2 separate regions of the Homo sapiens genome follow, and region 1 is linked to region 2. The links are contacts of gene promoters, found by promoter capture Hi-C in human tissues and cell types (Jung and others, 2019). All regions are on one chromosome and are shown on one strand. Each heading gives the region's core, a stretch centred on a gene start or on the middle of the fragment in contact. The rest is flanking DNA. Distances are from core to core; before and after follow the strand shown. Region 1 overlaps GBF1 (golgi brefeldin A resistant guanine nucleotide exchange factor 1). Region 2 holds the start of NOLC1 (nucleolar and coiled-body phosphoprotein 1).

Region 1 (3,860 bases), core at 537-3,036, 110 kb after region 2:
TAGGCTGCAGAAGTGATGGATTTGCCAGTTTTTTCTCAGGTCTCAGAACTGTGGAGGGAAGTCTCTGTAGTCACTGCTGTGCTTTGGACCCATTACCCAGCAAAGGCAGCATAAGGCTCTGTTCAGCTTCTGGCCCAGTTTGTCCTTTTATGTCTCTCTCATTAACTCAAGGAAGCACATGGCTTTTATATTTAAATTTATTCAAACTGTAATCTTTGACATTTGAGTTAGCTTTTAGTACAGTTTTGCATTTATAGTAATATATATTATGTATTTTCTCTATCCCCAAAGAATCCGTTTTAATCTTTTCCGGATGCAAATTTCAGGCTGTCTTGTCCCATCTTCCCTCTCTTGCTCTCTTTCCCCTCCCCCCACGGAGTGTGTTTGATCAGGTGTGGCAGGAATATCCACTGTCAAGCTGCGCCCTTTATATTAGTCAATATTATCCTTCTCCCCCCTCCCTGTCTGTCTGCCCCTTTGGGCTTTCCCAGTTGATTTATAATTTTGGAATTCTCATTGGAGTCTGTAATACAGTTTGTTCATTATTTAACCAAAACCTGTTTAATGAGCAGAGAGAGGCAATGTAAATGTTAGGCATGTTGCAGTGATGTACCTTTGTGCTTCTCAGAGCGGGTGGGTAGTTAACTCTGTGCTGCCTGCAGGGCTGGGGTGTCCTGGCCTTAGGGGCAGAAGGGCCACTGCCTCTCTCTTACATCTGCCCAAGCCCTGCCATGGGTTTAGATTCCAAAGACACATTTCCTTTTATTCTTCTAAGAATCTTTTGGGGCTCTTGCATATGGGAGTTATCTTCAGTCTCGCAGCTAGACCTTGTGGTAGGATCTGTGGCATGGGATGGGGCATGGAAGGGAAAGTGAAATATCAGGATACTTGATATTGCTCTTGGTTTTAGATCTGACAAGAGTAGACAGTTTATGGGAATGCTTCTAGCCAATATGGTCTGTGGTCTTTGATCTCTTTGTTCCCAGACTAGATAAATTCTTGCAAGCCTTAGTTCCCTTCATCCAGTATAGCTTTATGGAAAGGGCTATAGTCAGTTGTGAGTTGTGGTGTTTGGTTGTAGTCATTTGCCTCCAGATATAGTCTGTCTTTGTCCTTGGTCTTTAAACTTAGATCATTACAAAGAGATTCTTTTCCAGAAAATTTTTGGTTTAAAACAGGAGAGGAACAGTCTAAAAGTATCACAACCAGGCTAGGTGCAGTGACCCACATCTGTAATCTAGCACTTTGGGTGGCCAAGACAGCAGGATTACTTGAGGCTGGGAGTTCGAGACCAGCATGGGCAACATACCAAGATTCCCCCCATCTCTACAAAAATAAAAATAAAAAAAATTAGTTGGGTATGGTGGCGTACAACTGTAGTTCCAGCTACTTAGGCTGAGGCGAGAGGATCACTTGAGCCCAGGAGTTCGAGGTTACAGTGACCCATGATTGCGCCACTGTACTCTAGCCTGAGTGACAAGAGTGAGACCCTTTCAATGAATGAATGAATGAATGAATGAATGAAAGAAAGTATCACAACCAAAATCTTCTCTTATGGGATCATCTTTTAATGACTTACTTTAAAGCCTTCAGGGCCAGGGCTTGAGGAAGACTTCTTAGGGTGTGCGTGTGTCTATGTGCGTGTGAGGGTGTGGTGGTGAGGAGTTTGCCTTTGGAGATTTAGTCCCAGGTCTTTTTAGCTCTGAGGACCTAATGTCCAGTTTTGGTTATCAGGACTGGGGTTCTCAGTGTAAGACTAAGGTGGAGGGCCGGGTGCGGTGGCTCACGCCTGTAATCCCAGCACTTTGGGAGGCCGAGGCGGGCAGATCACGAGGTCAGGAGATTGAGACCATCCTGGCGAACACGGTGAAACCCCGTCTCTACTAAAAAAATACAAAAAATTAGTCGGGCATGGTGGCAGGCGCCTGTAGTCCCAGCTACTCGGGAGGCTGAGGCAGGAGAATGGCCTGAACCTGGGAGGCGCAGCTTGCAGTGAGCCGAGATCGTGCCACTGCACTCCAGCCTGGGTGACAGAGCGATACTCTGTCTCAAAAAAAAAAACTAAGGTGGTCTTGAGGCCCAGTATAGGTACCCATATTAACTATAACATTGTTCTAGCTTCTTAGACCTTTTCTTTTGGGGATTCTCCAAGATTTGGATTCCTTCAGGGCCTAGCTTATTGAGTTGCTTCTAACTGATATTTATTGACTATCTGGTATGTGCCAGGCATTTTTCTTAGGTACTTAGGAAGTGGGTCTGTAATGGTAAACAATCAGTCAGACTTCCTGCCCTCATAGCCACTGGTTTGACAGGACTAATGACTCTAGCTGATCATTCCAAAGCTAACATTTTGTAGCCTCTACTTTATGCTATATGGTCCCTATCAGGCATGGAATGGATGACCATGAGTGAGAGCAATCTGCTGCCAGCTTTTCTTATTCCTGCTCTTTCCTTAAGGAACAAGCCAAAGAAATAAGTAAAAACAATAGCTCATATTTGCTTATTTGGCTTTCACATGTAAAGCTGTTATGGCCAGAGTTTAGCTATTCCCAAAGACATTGGTGGGTTGCATAGCGTAATTCTGGGGGATAGGATATTTCTTTACAGAGCTTACTGGGACAGCAGGTTATGGCGTGCTTGAGTTTAAGAGGGAGAAGCACGTGCCAGGAGAAAGTGGATGTGTCAGGAGTTTATTTAAGTATAGTTTATCCTGGACAAACACACCTGTAGGGTACTGTCTGTCTCAAGCTTTGTGAATTCAGAGTCTGAGCTAGGAGGTTTGAGTCCATCTAACCTCCAGAGGTTTGCAGAGAACATTTAAACAGAGTCTGGAAGCCAACTTGGGAGGAACTATGACTTAACACCTGTCTGGCCTGGGCCTCTTAGCAGTAGCCGCTTAGGTAGAAAAGAAACTGTTTGAGAATGCCTGATACCTCAAGTTTAATCTGTTTCATTTGGAAAATGGGGAGGTGTAGAGAAAAGAGATTTTAGTAGTCATTGTCAGGAAAAAGATTGAATAAGAGTATATTATATGTGCCAGGCATGGTGGCTCACACCTGTAATCCCAGCACTTTGGGAGGCTAAGGCGGGTGGATGACTTGAGGTCAGCAGTTCGAGACCAGCCTGGCCAACATGGTGAAACCCTGTCTCTACTAAAAATACAAAAATTAGCCAGGTGCGGTGGCGCATGCCTGTAGTCCCAGCTACTCAGGAGGCTGAAGCAGGTGAATTGCTTGAACCCAGGAGGTGAGATTGCAGTGAGCTGAGATCGTGCCACTGCACTCCAGCCTGGGTGGCAGATCAAGACTCCATCTCAACAACAACAACAACAACAACAACAAAAGCGAGTATGTTATATGAAAAAAATTTGCTGGAGTCCTATTGATTAAGTGCCTACTTTTATTTTTTCCTACAGGGGTCTATAGTTTAGGGAGTAAAGTAATATATCATTATTAATCAGCATGAGAAGAAGGTTGAATGGGTCATCAGCTTTTGTTCCACTTGGAATTGAGCTTGTGAATTGTTCAAGGCCTAAGTAGGAACTAAAAGAACCAAATGTGATAAAATTTGGCAGACAAATTTTGTGAAGGGCTGAGTGTTAGGAAAGGCAATGGGCACACTTAAAAGTATCCATTTCCTGTGCCCTGTTTTACTTTCTTGGTTTATAATATAAAACTATAGTTGAGTAATACATTAGAATGTGACTTGAATTTGAGTCAGACTGACTTTGGCACCTTAGAATCTCTGTAACTTGAGTGGCCACAGACTTGTAGACATTTCAGCACAGTTAGAGTGAATAAAGGTACTGTGATTCTTTTTTTCCCCAGGGACTATTCATATTAAAAGGGTAGCTCCAAGAG
Region 2 (4,019 bases), core at 171-2,670:
GCCACCATGCCTGGCTAATTTTTTTTGTATTTTTAGTAGAGACAGGGTTTCACCATGTTGGCCAGGGCTGTTCTTGAACTCCTGACCTCAGGTGATCCACCCACCTTAGCCTCCCAAAGTGCTGAGATTACAGGCATGAACCACCGTGCCCAGCTTTGTTTTTGATTTTTGAGATAGGATCTCACTCTGTGGCCCAGGCTGGATTGCAGTGGCAGGATCATAGCTCATTGCAGCTTTGACCTCCCTGGCTCAGTTGATCCTCCTGCCCCAGCCTCCCAAGTAGCTGGGACCACAGGTGCATGCCACTACACCTGGCTAATTTTAAAAATTTTTTGTAGAGATAGGGGGGTTTCACTGTGTTGTCCAGGCTGGCCTCTTAACTCCTGGGCTCAAGGGATCCTCCCACCTAGGCCTTCCAAAGTGTTGAGATAACAGTTGTGAGCCACTATGCCTGGCCAATTTTATATAGGAGAGGGGGGTGTGTTCCCATGAGGATCCTTATCTTTCCTGAGCGGCATTAGTGGGAGGTAGCCAAGGGGTAGTGGGTAGGATTGAAGGGATTGCTAACTGCTAATATCTGGAATGTGGCAGAACTTGGAATTAACTTGGTAGGTCTGAGCATTGATACTGGAGTTACTCATGACAAAGGCATTGATACTGGAGTTACTCATGACAAAGGCAGAGTGTGAACTCTGATCCCGGAGGAAGAAGGGTTATTTTCAACAATCTCTTCAGCTTGAATAGATTGTTGCTGTGTGTGATTCAGGTTTGGTGCATGACACCTTTCCTCTTCATGGAGCTGACCTAAGGCGGAATATAAGGGAGATGGGAGGGGCAGCTTGGGAAATCAACACCTCCCACCCTCACGACGGATAACCCGAAGGATCTTCTGCAGCAGAGGCAGGAGTCTGGAGGCTGGGATGGTATCAGAAAGGGCCTCCCTGGGTATTGGAGGCAGTGAAGATGAAGGGCGAGAATCCATTGGCCGTGCCAGTACGCCATGGGGGCGGTTGGGAGATCTTGTAGAACAACTGTTCGAGCCCGCTTGTCCACTCATTACTCTGGAATCCGAGTCCCAGCAGGGGCGCGGGAAACCGCTGCTCTGAGAAAAGGTACCTCCCCCAGAAAGACTGCGCGGGAAGTCCCGAGTTTTCCCGCCACGCCGAGGGCGTGATCCCTGACGTCAGAGCTCCGCCTCCACAAGCTGGCGGCCGGTGGGCTCCGCCCTTAACCAAGATGGCGATACGCGTGGGACCGGAAAGAGTTTATAGATTTCCCGTCTACCCTACCTCTGAGGTGAAGGTGGGACTGCCCTGTGGAGCCCACCCTTTCCGTTATGCGCCCGCGCGGCGCAATGACGTAACACAGGCCCGCCCACTGCCCCTGTTGGGTTCCTGAGTCGTGCTGCGTCGACAACGGTAGTGACGCGTATTGCCTGGAGGATGGCGGACGCCGGCATTCGCCGCGTGGTTCCCAGCGACCTGTATCCCCTCGTGCTCGGCTTCCTGCGCGATAACCAACTCTCAGAGGTGGCCAATAAGTTCGCCAAAGCGACAGGAGCTGTGAGTTCCGGGCTTGGGGCGGGGACCGGGCTGAGATGACCACAAGGCTTCAGGCCCTGACGTGCTTAGGTTTCCAGGTGGGGAAGTCTGGGGGTCCGCCAGTCCAGTGTCTGCAAGGCCTTTACGCCGACCCCTCGGCAGTGACCAGAGAAAGCCTGCGGCCTCGGTCGCTTACCTTCCTCCATGTCTGAGTAGATATCGCTGAGTCTTGTTGCTTTTTTCTTGTGACCTGTGCAGCGGCGGCAGCGTGGGAGCCTCGTGGCCCCAAGCCACATGGCTGGCAGAGTGCAGCGGGGAGGTAGAGTCTTGTTCCACTGAGGACGTTGGTTCTTCGGCATCTTCTGGGGGGCTTTTCGTTGGGTGAGGCAAACCGTGATTTGACCTTAGCCTCAGTCACATTTACTGGGATTCAAAAGCAAGTGAAATTTCTTTAGAATGAAGTCTGGGATTTTCGTTTGTAAAGAAGAAAATGAATGAAAGTAGAAGCAGAGTTTTGTTTTGAGTTACACTGAGAATTGAGAGTCATCAACAGCCCTACCAAGTAGGCATAGTAGTGGGCTTGGAGCTTTGGCTAATTGAATCAAACAAACCTAGGTTTGGGACCAGGCTCTGCCACTTTTTAGATACGTGACCCGGGCAGTTTATTTAACCTTTCTGAGTCTTTCTACAGGGATGTCATCATCCACTTTATAGGATTTTTGTGAGTTTCAGTAAGATGATGTGTAAGAGTAGCAATCTCAGTGCTGGTACAGAGGAATCTTGTAAAAGTGAAAGCTGTACCATAGTTATGGCAATTTAGGATGCTCCAAACACATGTAAGAGTAAGAGAACCAGGAATGTGAAAGGTTTGTAATCTACATCAACGGACATTCCTGCATGGGAAGACACTTTGAGAGAGGAGAGAGGGGGGGTCTTCAGCAGGGATGATAGCATGACTAGGAAGGATGGCTTGCACTTTTAGCAGAATCAGGCTGCGAAAGCAAAGAATCAGATCAGCCTCAAAACTTCCTTAAGCTGGGACAGGCTGCCATGTGATCTAACTGCTTTCTTAATGAAACTGTTTAGAGTTGACTGTTAAGGAGACTGCGGAGAGTGCTTTCACAGTGGACTGGATGGAATTGGACATTTCAGAATTAGGATTCTTTTTTTTTTTTTTTTTTTTTTGAGACGGAGTCTCTGTTGCCCAGGCTGGAGTGCAATGGTGCGATCTCGGCTCATTGTAACCTCCGCCTCCCAAGTTCAAGTGATTATCCTGCCTCAGCCTCCCCAGTAGCTGGGATTACAGGCGCGTACCACCACGCCCGGCTAATTTTTGTATTTTTAGTAGAGATGAGGTTTCACCATGTTGGCCAGGCTGGTCTTGAACTCCTGACCTCAAGAAATCCACTTGCCTCAGCCTCTCAAAGTGCTGGGATTACAGGCGCGAGCCACCGTGCCCGGCCTCAGGATTAGGATTCTGAAATGGTTTTATGTGAGAAAAGCTAATCTTTGTGAAGAGCTAACTAAGGGTCAGATGCTACGCCCTTCACATGCATTTAATTTTTTTTTTTTTTTTTTTTGAGGCGGAGTCTGGCTCTGTCGCCCAGGCTGGAGTGCAGTGGCACGATCTCAGCTCACTGCAACCTCTGCCTCTCAGGCTAAAGTGATTCTCCTGCCTCAGCTTCCCAAGTAGCTGGGACTACAGGTGTGCCCCACCATGCCTGGCTAATTTTTTTTTTTTTTTTTTGTATTTTTAGTAGAGACGGGGTTTCACCATGTTGGCCAGGCTGCTCTTGAACTCCTGACCTCAAGAATCTACTGCCTCGGCTTCCCAAAGTGCTGGGATTACAGGTGTGAGCCACCGCACCCGGCCAACATGCATTATGTCTTATCCTCTCAATAACTTAATGAGATGTGTAGTATTATCTCCATTTTATAGAAAAGAAAATAATCTCAGGGAGATAAGGTAATTTGTCCAAAGGTGAGTTCCCATCTGTACTGACTCTGATCATTTACTCTTTTTTGGACCACAGAGTCTCACTGTTGCCCAGGCGGGAGTGCAGTGGTGCAATCTCAGCTCACTGCAACCTTTGCCTCCCAGGTTGAAGCGATTCTTGTGCCTCAGCCTCATGCCTCAGCCTCCCAAATAGCTGGGATTACAGGCGCCCGCCTCCACGCCCAGCTTATGTTTGTATCTTTAGTAGAGATGGGGTTTCACCATACCAGCCAGGCTGGTCTCAAATTCCTGATCAGGTGATCCACCCACCTCAGCCTCCCAAAGTGTTGGGATTACAGGCCCGTGAGCCACTGCACCTGGCCTGATCCTGTACTCTTCTGTGTATTGTTTTGTGTTTGTTTGTTTCTTTTAGAGGGTCTCACTCTGTCGCCCAGGCTGGAGTAAAGTGATGCAATCATACTTCGCTGTAGCATCGAACTCCTGGGCTCAGGCAATCCTCCTGCCTCAGTCACTGGGGTAGC

What was found. Contacts are between HindIII fragments. The study calls those that stand out against the background at their distance.
Region 1: a fragment that was not itself captured here is called in contact with the fragment with the promoter of NOLC1 in region 2 in 4 of the 25 tissues and cell types used here (H1 embryonic stem cells, dorsolateral prefrontal cortex, liver and 1 more).

What each region holds. Positions count from the first base shown.
Region 1 is chr10:102,264,189-102,268,048 of GRCh38, forward strand. The region is part of intron 3 of GBF1 (golgi brefeldin A resistant guanine nucleotide exchange factor 1); the gene reads left to right. Among named protein-coding and RNA genes, the nearest start is that of GBF1, 21 kb to the left of the region's middle. The HindIII fragment of the contact is 6,652 bases long and covers 1-3,860 here.
Region 2 is chr10:102,150,969-102,154,987 of GRCh38, forward strand. NOLC1 (nucleolar and coiled-body phosphoprotein 1) reads left to right here and starts at 1,421. Exons shown (of 13, transcript NM_004741.5): 1 at 1,421-1,562. The coding sequence starts at 1,443. RefSeq lists enhancers at 907-2,106, 1,012-1,311, 1,482-1,531. The HindIII fragment of the contact is 9,767 bases long and covers 1-4,019 here.